Linked DNA regions of Homo sapiens: region 2 is linked to region 1. Evidence: promoter capture Hi-C in 16 types of primary human blood cells and fetal thymus (Javierre and others, 2016). All regions are on one chromosome and are shown on one strand. The core of a region is centred on a gene start or on the middle of the fragment in contact, and the rest is flanking DNA. Distances in the headings are between cores, read along the strand shown. Region 1 holds the start of CNOT3 (CCR4-NOT transcription complex subunit 3). Region 2 holds the start of ZNF865 (zinc finger protein 865).

Region 1 (7,634 bases), core at 3,044-5,543:
CTGCAGACAGTCAGGAGAGTTTCCAGGGGACAGCAGGGGCTGTCCTAGCGGGTGGCATGAAACCGTCTCCCTGGAGAGGTTAAGGAAGAGCAACTCCAGGGGTTCCATTTACTATGTGCTCCGGAGCTGGGCTACACGGTGGTACTAAGGAGGCAGCGCTAGTCACCTGACCTACAAGGTCGGGCTTCTGTTAGTTACCTAAGAGATGTTACCAGGACAAGCAGCAGCCTGGTGGGAAGATGATGCCTCCAGGTCTCTACCTCCTCTCTCTCTCCCTCCTTCTCTCCACCTCCCCTCTCTCTCCCTCCCTCTCTCCACCTCCCCTCTCTCTCTTCCTCCCTCTCCACCTCCCCTCTCTCTCTCCCTCCCTCTCTCCACCTCCCCTCTCTCTCTCCCTCCCTCTCCACCTCCCCTCTCTCCACCTCCCCTCACTCCACCTTCCCTCTCTCCACCTCCCCTCCCTCTCTCCACCTTCCCCTCTCTCCCTCCCTCCCTCTCTCCACCTTCCCTCTCTCCTCCCCTCTCCCCCTCCCTCCCTCTCTCCACCTTCCCTCTCTCCACCTCCCCTCTCCCCCTCCCTCCCTCTCTCCACCTCCCCTCTCCCTCCCTCTCTCTCCTCCCCTCTCCCTCCCTCCACCTCCCCTCCCTCTCTCCACCTCCCCTCCCTCTCTCCCTCCCTCCCTCCCTCTCTCCACCTTCCCTCTCCCTCCCTCCACCTTCCCTCTCCCTCCCTCCACCTTCCCTCTCCCTCCCTCTCCACCTTCCCTCTCTCCTCCCCTCTCCCTCCCTCTCTCCACCTCCCCTCTCTCCCTCCCTCCCTCCCTCTCTCCACCTTCCCTCTCTCCCTCCCTCTCTCCACCTTCCCTCTCTCTCTCTCCCTCCCTCTCTCCAGCTCATGCTATCTGGGTCTCCCTCTGACTTTCTAGGTCCTGTCTGAGATTTTGCTCTTTCTGTTCCCCTCTCTGGGCCTCCCCGTCACCACTCTGTGTATCTCTGGATCCCTGTCCTTCAACCCAGAGCTCTGTCTCTGGACCTCAGTGGCAATCTCTAAATCTCTCTCCTTCCTCAAGTCAAAAAGTCGACACACTCAGGAGGTTCCCTTGAGTGGCTGAACTACCCCAGGTTGTATAACTCAAGTCTGTTTTCTCAATGTTATCCCTGACCCTCTGGGTCAACCCTGTTTGAAAATGACAACCTTTGCTGATCTCTACATACTGGTCTGCCAGGGAAGGACCCGTGGTCCACAACCCTGTTCAGAATCCCCCATCTCCCTTGGCCAAAATATCCGGCATCTACCAATGGGGCTGTGGCATGAGGGTGTCAATCTCAGGAAAGGAATCTTGAGTCGCCTGGGCCTGCAGCCCTCGTACTTTCAGAACAGAGGTTCTCAGAATTTAATGCGCTTCAGAATTACACTGAGGACTTGTTAAAACATAGTTGCTGGGCCCAGAGTTTCTGATTCAGTCTAGGGTGGGGCTCAAAAATGTGCCTTTCAAACAAGTTCCCAGGTGATGGGTACGTGCCTGACCCAAGGCCACATTTCAGAAGCACTGCTCTAGAAAAGAAGACTCTGTAAGCGGCTCTTACGCTGGGCGCGGTGGCTCACGCCTGTAATCCCAGCTACTTGGGAGGCTGAGGTGGGAGAATGGCTTGAACCTGGGAGGCAGAGGTTGCAGTGAGCCGAGATGGCGCCCCTGCACTCCAGCCTGGGTGAGAGAGACACTGGCTCCCACCTCAAGATCGTTTTAGTTGGTCCAGTGTAAGCCTGGGTATCTGGACTTTTTTATTTTTTATTTTTATTTTTTGAGACGGCGTCTTGCTCTGTCACCCAGGCTGGAGTGCAATGGCGCAATCTCGGGTCACTGCAACCTCTGCCTCCCAGGTTCAAGTGATTCTCCCGCCTCAGCCTCCCGAGTAGCTGGGATTACAGGCACATGCCACCATGCCCAGCTAATTTTTGTATTTTTAGTAGAGACGGGGTTTCACCATGTTGGCCAGGCTGGTTTTGAACTCCCTACCTCAGGTGATCCGCCCACCTCGGCCTCTGAGAGTGCTGGGATTACAGGTGCAATGGCGCAATCTAGGCTCACTGCAGCCTCTGCCTCCCGGGTTCAAGTGATTCTCCCGGCCCGGCCTGGCCTCTAATTTAAAAAAAATTTTTTTTTTTTAAAGTTCCTCAGGTAGGCCAGGCGCAGTGGCTCACGCCTGTAATCCCAGCACTTTGGGAGACTGAGGCGAGCGGATCACCTGAGGTCAGGAGTTCGACACCAGCCTGGCCAACATGGTGAAACCCCGTCTCTACTAAAAATACAAAAATTAGTCGGGCGTGGTGGCGGGCGCCTGTAATCCCAGCTACTCGGGAGGCTGAGGCGGGAGAATCACTTGAACCCCGGGAGGCAGAGGCTGCAGTGAGCCTAGATTGTGCCACTGCTCTCCAGCCTGGGGGACAAGAGCAAGTCTTCGTCTCAACAACAACAACAATAACAACAAGTTCCTCAGGTGACTCTGATGTGCAGCCAAGTTGGAAAGTCATCGCTAGATCCGCGGTGTGCAAAGTGAACTGCGGACCGTGGACTGCGGCACTTGTTAGAAAAGCAGAATTTGCATTTTAACACATTCCTAGGTGATTCCGGAGATGTCTGAGAAGCGATACTTTGTCCAGGGGCCACAGTTTGAATAGCAAAGCTCTAGAACAATAACTCTAGGCTTCATTCCCGTTGTCTGTGTGTGGGCCTACGAATATGCATTTTCGCAAGCATTCCTCCTCCCCCTTGCCTCAGACCATTCTGATGCGGGTGGTGCTGAACGGCTCCATCCTCCTTCACGTTCACCTCTCCCTGGGATTTATCTTACTTTCCACCACCTAGACAGGAAGGGGCGAATCTGGCTTCCCATCTCGGTTGTGTGACCCTGGGCAAATGCCTCCCAGTTCGTGGAAGTCTCAGTGTCTAGTTAAGTTTTCAATCACAAGTCATTCCTCACATTCATTCATCTATTCCTTTGACAAATGGTTACTGACTACTTCCTGCGTGCTAAGTGCTGGAGATGCAAAATCCAGACAGGGAAACCGAATAATTACGAAAATGACGGTAGACGTACAAAAATAAATCCTAACGAACAAGGCGCGCAGGAGCGCTCCGCCCGGGAGGGAGGTCAGGGAAGTTTTCTCTCCAAGAAGACAACAGAGCTGAGACCTGAAACGAGCAGGCATTAGGGAGCCACCCGTCTCCTCTGTACCTTCTGCAGCGTCCTCAACACACTAAGGAAGCGGAGACGCAGAGGAGAATGACTGTCCCACCATCTGGTCGCCTAACCAGGCAGGGGCAGGACAAAAACTCCATGCCTCACGCTTCCCAACCAATTCTGCTATGCACGGTGCCAGAGACTTAAAGCAGTGTCTCTGGTCCCTTTCTTCTTTCACTCAGCAAATAATGAATTTCAGAGATGTGCCAACATAGAGGCACTTGGAGAAAGACGAGGCAGCTGAGAGGGAAGCTGCTTACCTGGCCGGGACGCAACGGTTGCGACCAAGTCCCACTTCTGCCAGCTACATACACCCTCTTTCACACGCTCTACGAGCAGCTACCGCCCACTCGCCACGCTATTGGTCCAACTAGCATGAATGATAACTTTTAGGGCCAACGAAGAAAAAGGGGTGGACTTTCTTGCCCAGCTCCTCCCACTTGGCCCTGTGGCTGTTTTGATTGGCAGATGACTTCGGCTCGGCCCCCGCTTTAAAGGCACCTGTCTGTCTCCCATTAGGTACGCGGCCCCTAACGCCCACACTCCATGCCTTCCTCCGCTTTCCCCACCCACTTCCAGGACCAACCAATGACTTCAAGGCAGAATATGCCCCCGCAACCAATTAAAAAGAGCTCTAAACTTGACGGACGACTTCCCGCCCCTGGACTGTCGTAGCTCCTCCCCCAGACCAATTGTTTTAAGAGAGGGGGGCGGATACATCCAATCAGCACGACACAGGTCTCTTGATTGACGTTCGGGTCCTCGCGCTGGCGTGTTGTGCCCTGAGGCGGGAGGAGGAGGAGGAGCGGGGAGGAAAACCTGAGCCAATCCTAGCAGCCTGCGCGGGAGGCCAATCGAACGCCGCGCCTTGGAGCGATCACCCAATCCGCGAAAGGGGGCAGGGCGCATCCCTGCCAGGAACCAATAGAAAGCCTCCAAGGGTCAGGAGCGACGTTCAGCGGGAGCAATGACTGGCCTATATTCGGGACTCGGGGGCGGGTCGGCGCCAGAGACGAGAAGAGAGGAGGGGAGGCCTCCTCCGCCGCCGCCATCTTGGACCGGGCCCGGTCAGCTTCCGCGGAGCCATCGGCAGACGCCGCGGCCTCCCTTGAGCCCCGACCCCCGTCGTCAGAACAACCCCGGGCCCACTCCCCCAACCCCACTTCCGCTTCGCGCCGCTATCGCGATAGCGCCCGGGCCCGGGGCGCGAGAAAAAGGCGGCGGGCGCTCGCCTCCCCCGCCTGTCGCGATACGCTCCTCAGCGGCGGCGCCAGCTCCTGTGGTGAGAGCGTCAGGCTCGACTGGGCCGGACCCCTTCCCTTCCTCCCCCCGGCGCCATCGGCCGCCCTCCCCGCCGCCTCCCGCCCTGGCGACACCGCCGTCTGTCGCGACATGGCCTCCCCTCGCCTGCCCCCTGCCGCCGCCTCTGCAGCGCGGGGCTCCCGGCGGGGGGCGGCTCCCTCCCTCTCGCCCTCCCGTTCCTGCGCCTCTTTCACGTTCCTCAGCGCCTCCCGGGGGTCCTTCCGCGACCCGGACCCCGGGCCCCGCCCGCCGCCGCCTCCCCGCGTGGCATCGCGTCGGGCCCCCCGGTAGGGGTGTGAGGGTGCGAAGCCTCCCGGGCGCGAGGTGCCCGCCCCTCTCCGCGTCGGTATTGGCTCCTGGCTGGAAGGATGGAGGCGCCCCTGGTCCCAGGTGCCCGCCCTCTCGGGGCTCAGGTGCCTGCCCCCCTCGGCCTCGGTCCTTCGCGTTGTGGGGCAGCCTCCGCGCCGGGGCTTCTCCCTCGACGGTGGCGGGGAGGGGGGGTGGTGGTCGGGACGAGGACCCCAGCTGGGTGGGGGAGTCACCCTTCCCAGGACCGAGGCCGCCCTCCGCATCCCTCCTCACTGCTCCCGGGAGCGCAGCCTCCCCTGGATCTCAGGTTCCAGCTGCCCGTCTGTATCGGATGGGAGCCTCTTGGGAGAGGAGTGGAGGAGAAACTCCCCGTTAGTTGGAGCCTTTGCCGAAGTTTCCACCTCTGTAGTCTGCAGCTCTTCCCTCTCATAGCGAGTAGCGCCCTGGGTGGCTCCAGCCTCGCCATCCCGCTGCACTGGGCGCCTGCCTTTTTGGGGGAGTTTGGCTTTCCCCCACCTGGGGTACAGGACCGTCCTCAGTGTGGCCCACGTCTGGTCTCAGCTCTCACACTTCTTTGATCCTGGCGTCTGCCCCTGGCTTTGCAGCCTTGAACTCCCCTGCATCGTGACTCTCCGACCTTCTGGGTGTGGGCGTCTCCCAGTGATATCAGGACCACTGTGGTCTTGTTGCTGGGGGCTGCTGGGATCCCCTGGCGCTCAGGTGCCTGGTGAAAGACACTAAGCCGCCACGCTGTCCATGTTAGTGAGCTCCCACTGCGGGCAGCACCAGCCCCTCTTTCTGAGCAGTCCCTGCCTCTCAGTGCAGGGCGGCCACCCACCCCGGGGTGAGCTCTCCTGTCCTTTTGGTGAGGGGTTTTGATGTCTCCCCTCCCTCCCTTCACCCCTGCCTGAGTATGAGGCTTCTTCCATCTTCACACCAGTCTCCTCCTTTAGGGTGTCAGCTCTCCAAGGACCAAGAAGCCCACTGCCCTTGATATTTGCATCAGATCCCACACTGTGGGTTTGTTGACTTCCCATCTACCCTTACGCTGGGTGTCAGCAGTTGGAGAACAAGGGTTTCGCCTTCTGGCCCCGCTGCTGGTACCCCATGAGAGTAGGAAGCTTCCTAGACCCGGGTTCCTGTACTGCGAGGTGGGGGCTCTTCCCTCTGGGGCTGTGCCTTCTCTCCAGGGTAAGGACCCTTTCTTGGTGTCACCTCCCCCAGGGATAAGGTTCTTGCCATCCTTGGTATTGGTATGGCTGCTTTTCTGGATTTGAGGTGTCCACGCCTCTGCATGTGTCCCCACCGTAAGGCTGAGGACCCCTCTCGGATGCAGGTGCCCCCGGCTAATGCTTCCAAAACCCCCTCTTGATTTGTCACTGTATGGGGTAAGGCATAGTTTCCTGGCTGTGTGGATGTAAGATACCTGAGTCTCAAGCGGGAGACTCCACTGTAGACCCTGTCCCTGGGACCAGAGACTTCTCTGGTGTAGACTTTCCAAGGTGGGAGATTCCAGCCCCCCACCCTTGGCATGGGGCATCTCAGTGGAGATGACTACCTCTACCCCAGGCCCTAACGCATCCTTCTTCTGGAGTCTCAGAGCCTCTGTGTGGCCACGTCAGCAGCCACCTGGGTTAAGGATCACCCTTCAACATCACTTCTCAGAGCTCCTTGCTGCAGAGGCGGAAGCTCTCCCAGATCAAAGGTGCCTCATGACAAAGACCACTCTGTGGGCACATGACGGCCCCCAAGGTTAAGGACCACCCGGTGTTAGTTTCCCAGGGCTGACCTCCTGCCCCTCCCTCCTCGAGTCTTTGTGTGGTGGTATCATCTTCCCTGAGATGAAGTCTGGGGGGCTCTTCTTTACTGGTTTTGGCTCTGATTTTAGCGTGTTGGCTCCTGTGAGGCTGGTGTCCTGCTCACCTCCCCCCACCCCGCCACCCGCCTTGTGGGTCCCTTCCCTGTGGGGATGTGTGTTCCTCTTGGGTAAGTCTCCTCCTGGGCCGAGGTTCCCAGATTCCTCAGTGCTCTTGGAGAGCCTTTGCTGCTGGAGCACAGGTTCTTCACGCCTGAGAGTGGACCTGCGATCACCACCTTCCTTGGAGGATCTTGGTGGATGCCCCCCTGACTACAGCAAATGGGGCTCTTTCTTCTCTGGCGGCGTCTCTGCTTCGAGACTCAGGCTCCAGCTTCCCTTCTCTCTGGTCCTTTGCTGGGGGGACCAGAGGTACAGATACCCTCATGATATAGGGATTTTCTTAGCGGGGAAGGTGTTGTCTCTACTGTGGCTAAGGCTCCAGCCTCTCTAGGGGACAAGTACCCTGGGCCTCTGGCACTTGCCCCTTCTCTGTGGAGGAGCTGCCTCCTCACTGGGTCTCAGCTGTAGCCGACTTCGATGTCACACTGTTCTGTCTGAAACATCACCTCCCTGGGTTAGCGCTCTTGTTCCCCTCCTCCTGGCTTGTGACCCCTCCAGGACTTCCTTCTCTTGCTGCCACAGTGTGGTCTCCTGTCTGTGGGTATTCTTCCTCTGCACTAGGATACCAGTCCTTTCCGTGTGGAGACACAGGGAGGGCGTCACCTGCCTAAGGTGTTGATTGCCTTGTTTAGGGGTGTAGACCATGAGACCTCTTCTCTCTCTGGGCTGGAGCACCTGCCCATGACCCTCTGTTGGGTTCTTGGGATGGAAAGAGGGAGTGTAAACTCTCGTTTCACATTCTTGTTCCCCCTATGCAGTAAGAGGCTTTTCTGTGTTGGGGTGTTGGACTTTGGTGAGGATC
Region 2 (7,634 bases), core at 3,439-5,938, 1.5 Mb after region 1:
GCTTTCCTGTGCCTCAGTTTCCCCATCTGCAAAATGGGACAGATATGCCCTATTCAGAGGGTTGATGTGAGGCTTAGCTGCTCCTGATAACAATGGCTAATGTGTCCTGAAAGCTTCTGTGTATGAACACTTTGTGGGTATTATGCTCATGGCATGTCTGGGCAAGTACGTAGAACTATGTGTCCCATTTTGCAAAAGTCTTGATTAAGGCTTAGAGAAGCGAACACCTTGCCCAAGGCCACGCAGAGAGTAAAGATTTGAACGAATGATGTCTTGACTCCAGGGCCCAGGCTCTTAACATCGCAGATATGTTTCCTCATCCAGGAATCAGGGTCAAATATCACCTGGGACCAGTCCCTTTTTTCCACTCTGGAACCCCTTCCCCACTTCTGCCAGTCAGCAGGGAGGGATGAGAGCATTCGTGAGGCCTCTATGGCTCTGGAGTTTGATGGGCTCTCCGTTTCAAGGATCACAATACTGGTCTGCACTCTCAGTTGGACTCTATCCTCTCTGGAAGGTTTTTTTTTGTGGGGAGGTGGGGAGGGGTGTTGCTCATGTTGATCTTGAACTTCTAGATCCAGAAGGAGAGTTAGGGAGGCATAGGGATGTCTGGTGGAGCTCAGGGAAGTGCCTGTTTATCAGCTGATACAAGATCATCTCACTGTTTTACCCACCAGCATAGCTAAAATTGTGTATCTGGATGAATGTCAAACACACCTTTGTCAAGAGACTTGGAGAGAGGGATGGGCGAGGTGTTGGGGGACACAGGGGTGCTCTAGACCCTGTGAGCACTGACTCTGCCCCTCTCTCCTCTTAGCTGGCTCCAGTGCCCAGACCCAAGCCCCCCACTGCTCAATGGACACCCCCAGCCCAGACCCGTTGCCTTCGCCTTTGCCCGGGGAGGAAGAGAAACCTCTGGCCTTATCTCCTCCTGTTCCCCGGGGCCGCCGAGGCCGTCGTCCTGGGGGAGCCACCTCCTCAAATCGGACACTCAAGGCCTCCCTCCCTCGCAAGCGGGGCCGCCCCCCCAAGTCAGGGCAGGAGCCCCCACTGGTGCAGGTGCAGGGGGTGACAGCCCCAGTAGGCAGCAGTGGCGGGAGCGACCTCCTCCTGATCGATGATCAGGGTGTGCCCTATACGGTCTCTGAAGGTTCAGCGGCTGGGCCTGAGGGCTCTGGCCCCAGGAAGGCCCCACACTTCTGCCCGGTGTGCCTGCGGGCCTTCCCCTACCTCTCCGACCTGGAGCGCCACAGCATCTCGCACTCAGAGCTGAAGCCGCACCAGTGCAAGGTTTGCGGCAAGACCTTCAAGCGCTCCAGCCACCTGCGGCGGCACTGCAACATCCATGCCGGCCTGCGGCCCTTCCGCTGCCCGCTGTGCCCCCGCCGCTTCCGCGAGGCGGGCGAGCTGGCGCACCACCACCGCGTGCACTCGGGGGAGCGCCCGTACCAGTGCCCCATCTGCCGGCTGCGCTTTACAGAGGCCAACACGCTCCGGCGCCATGCGAAGCGCAAGCACCCGGAGGCCATGGGGGTACCCCTGTGTGCACCAGATCCAGGGTCTGAACCGCCGTGGGACGAGGAGGGCATCCCGGCCACAGCAGGGGCCGAGGAGGAGGAGGAGACAGAGGGGAAAGGGGAGCCGGCCTGACCCACACCCCCGGCCATCGCTCCCTGGGCCAGGTTTAGAGCAGGGAGTTTGGCTGGTGCTGGGCCTGAGCCAGGGGGCCGGGACACCCTTGTTTCCGGTGGTCTTCCCGTTGTGGGAGCAGGTGGAGGGTGGAGACCTAAACTTTGGGGTCCAGCTGCCTTCAGCCCCCCTCCCCCAGACTAACAGACCCTTGGAGGCAGGGGCTGTGGAAATAAATCTCTGCCTGCTGGCTGCCTGTGTGTGTTCCGTGCCGGGATGCCATCCTCTCCTGCCTTCAAATGTTCTTCCTCGGCTACACCGTCCTGTCGGGAGTGCGGGGAATTGGAGAGGACCCCACTTCCTGTGCCTCATGAGCGTGGTGCTCGCCAAAGAATGGTTTTGGGGGGAACCTTGGCCCCTTCCCCATCTCCATCAGACCCCAAAGTCCATGGGTCCCTCGGAGTCCGCGGGGAATTGGTTCCACGAACCTCGCAGATACCAAGATCTGGGCATACACAAGTCCAGCAGTGGGCCCTGCGGAACCCGCGGATGTAGGAAAATCCGCCCTTCGTATACTGTATGTTCCACCGGTGTTTGGGTGAAAAAACGTCCGCCTCTCAATGGACCTGCAGTTCAAACCCCTGTTGTTCAAGGGTCAGCTGTATTCCCAGTACACATCCAATCTAACTAAAAACATTGAACCTTCCATGCAGACCTGACTGTAGGTCCGACCGCCTCTCTCCTAGCCAATTCCCAGAAATTCTGCAGCCACTTTGCCCCACCTCCTTGTCCTGAGGACCTACTGTTTGGAAGGAAAAATTAAGACAAAGGTATGAGCAGGACGGTCTGGGTAAGGTTTAGAGATAAGGGGTGTGGATTGGGGCGGGGCTAAGGAGCGAGGGGTGGGGCTGAGATTGCGGGGCAGTTAGGCTGGGACCTGGGGCGGGGGCTTAGAAGAGGGTTAGAGTTGGGTGGGGCTTAAAGAGGTTTAGGGGTTGGTCCGCAGAAAGTGAGAGCGGTTTAAAGAGGATGGATAGAGTTGATCTAATAGAGAGTAGGGGCTTGGAGCTGGGGAAGAACAGGAGGAACTGCGTGAGAGTGGGGCAAGGAGGACGGATAATTTTTTTTTTGAGACAGGGTCTCGCTCTGTCATCCAGGCTGGAGTGCAGTGGCCCTATCACCGCTCACTGCAGCCTCGACCTGCCAGGCTCAAGCGACCCTCCTGCTTCAGCCTCCGGAGTAGCTGAGACTACAGACGGGCGCCAGCATATTTAGCTAATTTTTTTTTTTTGAGACGGAGTCTTGCTGTCGTCCAGGCTGGAGTGCAGTGGGGCAATCTGGCTCACTGCAACCTCTGCCTCCCGGGTTCAAGCAGTTCTCTCCCTCAGCCTCCCGAGTAGCTGGAATTACAGGCGCCCGCCACCACGCCTGGCTAATTTTTGTAATTTTAGTAGAGACGGGGTTTCACCATCTTGGCCAGGCTGGTCTTGACCTCCTGACCTCGTGATCCACCCGCCTCGGCCTCCCAAAGTGCTGGGATTACAGGCGTGAGCCACCGCGTCCAGCCTAATTTTTGTATTTTTTTTTTTTGTAGAGACGGGGTTTTGCCATATTGCCCAGGCTGGTCTTGAACTCCTGTGCTCAAGCAATCCGCCTGCCTTGGCCTCCCAAAGTGCTGGGATTACAGGCGTGAGCCACCACGCCAGGCCAAGAGAACGGATTTTAAGGTGAGGGGCGGAGCTTATAATAATTCAGCTCTGAGGTGGGCGTGGTTCAGGGCCGAGGGCCGGGGGCCGGGGCTTAAAGGAGAAACTCTGAGGGAACAGGGTATTGGAGGTGGGACTTAGAAGGTGCTGATGGGGGCGCACGACTGCTATGGAGGCGATGGGGAGAGAAGGAAGTACTTAATCTAAGGGAAGTTCCTGGGAGAGTGGAAGCTTAGCAGGAGGGGCTGAATGGGTCTGGGTTTGGCTGTTTGGGATGGGGCTGAGTTGGGAGCCGGGATTATAGCGATTATATGAGCGGGCAGTGTCAAGTGTGGTAAATCCATGGCTCTTGACCAGCATGCAGCAGAATCAGAGTATTTCAAAACACGGATCCCTAGACCCCCAACCCCAGGGCTTCTATTCCGCATGGTCTGAGCAGGCAGCCGGATGCTGCTGGCCTCCCAACTATCCTTGACAACCACCGATTTAAAAGAATGCTTTAGAGGTGGGAGGCACTCAAAAGTCACGAGGTGCAACTTAAATGCTATGGGGTGAAGGGGCGGGGCTTGGATGGAGGGGGCGGGGCCTAGGGAGGGGTGAAGTTCCAGAGAGTGGGAGCTTGGAGAGGGGGAAGAACAGGAGAAACTGCATGAGGGCGAGGGGACGAAGACAGACTTTGAGGCAGTAGGGGGCTTATAATCACGCTGTGAGATGGGCGTGGTTCAGGGCCAGGGGGCGGGGCTTCAGTGTGAGACCCGAGCCGGAGGTGTGGCTTAACCGGACGCCCAGAGCGTGTCGCGGGGTTCCCGTAGAAGAGGCGGGCATTCAAAGCGCAGGCGCACCTGGCTCAGTTCGCCCACCGGAATCGGCCCGGGCTTTCACTGCTCGCGTCCCCGAGTCAGTGCGCAAGCGCATTTCCCCCCTCCTGGTCCCCGCCACCGCCTCCTCTTTCCGATCCTCCACGCCGGCGCCTCGGGAACGGGCGCGACTTCCGCTTCCGGGCGGGCGGGCAGGCGGGCGGTGCGGGGCTGCCGGGGAGGGGGGAGGGGGCGGCACTTCCGGTCGGGCCCTCGGGTCTCCCCGGAGCGGCGGCGCCTCCTCCGCCTCCTCGGCCTCCTCCCGGCGGAGACCCCGGCGCCGGTGAGTGACGGGGTGCGTGGCCCGGGGGCCCGGGTGCAGCGGGGGCGGGGGGCCCCGCCCTGGCCCGCTGTGGTCCCCAGAACGTCCCCCAACCCCTAGCAAGTCAGTGCAGCTCCCGCCGGGCCCTTGCCAAGGGACCCCCAATCACTGCTCCCCGGTAGGATCACTGCAGATAGCTCCCCCATGAACGCCCCCAGCTAGGATGGCTGCCAAAGCGCTTTCATTCGTGGCGATCCCCTAAACGGCTGCCAGGGCCCCCAAATGATACCTCCTCGTAGGATCCCCTCCACATAGCGCTCCCCGTCATTGCTTCCTCCAGGTCAGCCTCCAGATGCCATCAGCATTGCCCCTCCCCATGTAGGGCAGCTGCTCGTGAACCCTCTTATTAGTATCCTCTATATAATTCTCCCCAGAGTGTTTCCTTAGTGCCTTGCAGCAGAACTGTCCCCCGTTATCTCTGTCCATACAGCAACAGCCCCCAATGGCCCTGACCACCTCCCTCCCCAGCAGAACGCCCCTTCGTGGGTGTGAAAATACTTTCTATTCTGGTCAGCACCAAGAATGCCTTTTTCCCTTCTGCAGGTCCTCCAGTGATTCCCCTTAAGAATGCCCCTTTCAAAGCCACCCCCCCATCGCAGCGGCACAGCTCCCTCTAGAGTTCCTTCACACTCACATCCTCTCCCGCCTCAGGTAGAAATATCCGCCTGCTTAGCTCCAGGCTCCCATGACATACTCCCGTACCTCCTCTCACCCCACCCTCATCGCGGTCAGCCCGTCTTCATTACTTCTGCCACAGAACAGTGTCCCGCAGTGAGGCGGTGAAGCCTTCCTTCCCAGAATGTGCCTCATCCTCTTCCTATGGCGTGAACAACTGTTGCCCTGACCTGCAGCTTCTCACCCAGCTCTCAGGCTATCGTCCTGGACTCCCTAGGGAAGACCCTGGACTTCACTAGGGTGTGACTTCTTTTCTCGTAGGCATTCCTTCTGCGTTGAACGCATATTCACTATTCTAGCTGAAGGGTATAATATACAGCCACGAAGGGGGTCGATACACACAGTGTTCTCACTGTGCGGGGTCTCACAGTCTAGTTGATCAGACACGAGTCGACAAAGATACACGGGGTTTTGTGGGTTCTCTGAGAGCCTGATGAACTACTTTAGAGGTGAAAGCTGAATTACAAGTGGCAGCTTAGCCATGCAAAGATCTGGGTGAGCAGGCAGCAAGAACAACAAGTGCAAAGGCCCTGAAGTGGCGGTGAGCACGGTGAGTGGAGGAGCAGCAGGGGAGGCCGGTGAGGGTGGAGTGGAAGATTTGAAGGCAAGAACAAGAGGAAGGAAGCTTTGGTCTCAAAAGGCTTTGGAGGTGAGGGCACTGGGATAAATTATCTAGCCTTTGTCAGCTCTACCGAGCCCAGAATGTTCTTCATTCATTCATACGTTCATTCGTAAACACTGGTTGAACAACTGTTTAATGAGCACCTACTTTACATTGGGGGTACAACAGAGAACAAAATAGACAAGAATCCCTGTCCTCATGGAGTGGATATGCTAGTTGAGGGGGCAGATGATTAAAAGACAAAATACAGGCCAGGCGAGGTGGCTCATGCCTGTAATCCCAGCAGTTGGGAAGGCCAAAGTGGGAGGATCGCTGGAGGCCAGGAGTTCAAGACCAACCTCGGCAACATAGTGAGACCCTGTCTTTACAGGAAAAAAAAAAAAAAAAAAAAAAAGCTGGGTGTGGTTGGTGGGCACCTGTAGTCCCCAGCTATTCAGGAGGCTGAGGTGGGAGGGCTGCTTGAGCCCAGGAGTTCGAGGCTGCAGTGAAAAAAAATAAAAACAAAAACCAAGAGTATATGTGCGTGTTCAGAATATCACGGGATAAAGAGATAGACCTGGGGGGCTGTGGTTCAGGATGGCCTCCCCCAGGATTTTCCTATGTCTTGTCATCTTGTCCCTCCCAAAAGCCACACACCAAAAAGTTATACAAGAGTAAAAATTCCCCTTCTCCTGGACAACTGTGGCCCACTTGGGGGCTGCTCTTAACAGCGCCCTAACCCCAGGAGCGAAGTGATTGGGAGGATGAGCCCTGGATTCCACTAGGGTTCACAGCTTTGAGCAAATCACTCCCTCCTTTCCTAGCCTCATTCATTCACTTCTTCAAACAAAAATGTATCAAGCCAGGAACTGTTGTAGGTCCTGGGGATGGAACAGTGAGCAAGAGATAAAAATCCTTGCCTTCAGGAAGCCGATCATCTGGATGGGGAGACCAACAAAATCAAGGCAAAGAAGTAGATTATGTGAGGTTATAAATGATGCTGAGCAGTAAGGAGAGAAATGAAGCAGGGTTAGGGAGATGAGGATGTGGGCCTGGGTGACAGGTCATTGGTTACTGAGAGGCTCATTGAGAAGACAGTTGACCAAAGATGGGGAGGAGGTGAAGGGGTGAGCGAGATGGTTGCCTGAGAGTCAGAATATTACAGGCAACAGCAACAGCCAGCGCAAAGGCCCTGCAGCAGGAATAGAGTGGGCACATGGGAAGAGCAGCCAGGAGACTGTGGAGGTCATTGTAAGGACTGTGGCTTTTTTTTTTTTTTTTTTTGAAAAGGAGTTTCGCTCTTGTTGCCCAGGCTGGAGTGCAGTGGTGTGATCTTAGCTCGCTGCAACCTCCGCCTCCCGGGTTCAAGTGATTCTCCTGCCTCAGCCTCCCGAGTAGCTGGGATTACAGGCATGTGCCACCACGCCCAGCTAATTTTGTATTTTTAGTAGAGATGGGGTTTCTCCATGTTGGTCAGGCTGGTCTCAAACTCCCGACCTCAGGTGATCCGCCTGCCTTGGCCTCCAAAAATGCTGGGATTACAGGCGTGAGCCACCGTGCCCAGTCAGGACTGTGGCTTTTGAATGAGATGGGGTTACTGTTTGGTTTGGGACCGAGGATAGACATGCTTTGGTTATAGTCCTCCTGTCAGTAAAATGGGAATAATAATAACACATTTGTTGTGAAGTTTGAATGAAACAAGCCACATAAGGCACCTAAGTACAATGCTTGTTAGAGGTCAACAAATGTTGGTGACTTGTTCTGGTCTTGGGTCAAGCCAAGAGACTTGGGATTTGTTGGCAGGGAGATGGGTGGAGCAATGCATGTTTCCAGTATGAAGTGGG

The links. The method cuts DNA at HindIII sites, captures the fragments that hold promoters and counts their contacts. A CHiCAGO score of 5 or more calls a contact.
Region 2: a fragment that was not itself captured here is called in contact with the fragment with the promoter of CNOT3 in region 1 in 1 of 17 cell types (naive CD8 T cells); the score reaches 5.3 in naive CD8 T cells.

What each region holds. Positions count from the first base shown.
Region 1 is chr19:54,133,469-54,141,102 of GRCh38, forward strand. CNOT3 (CCR4-NOT transcription complex subunit 3) reads left to right here and starts at 4,294. Exons shown (of 18, transcript NM_014516.4): 1 at 4,294-4,525. The HindIII fragment of the contact is 20,819 bases long and covers 1-5,973 here.
Region 2 is chr19:55,601,258-55,608,891 of GRCh38, forward strand. It overlaps ZNF865 (zinc finger protein 865), which reads left to right and starts at 4,390. Exons shown (of 2, transcript NM_001195605.2): 1 at 4,390-4,475. It overlaps ZNF524 (zinc finger protein 524), which reads left to right. Exons shown (of 2, transcript NM_153219.4): 2 at 818-1,881. The coding sequence starts at 856. The coding sequence ends at 1,650. RefSeq lists enhancers at 1,358-1,908, 3,012-3,563, 3,564-4,115 and a silencer at 4,159-4,658. The HindIII fragment of the contact is 2,248 bases long and covers 3,565-5,812 here.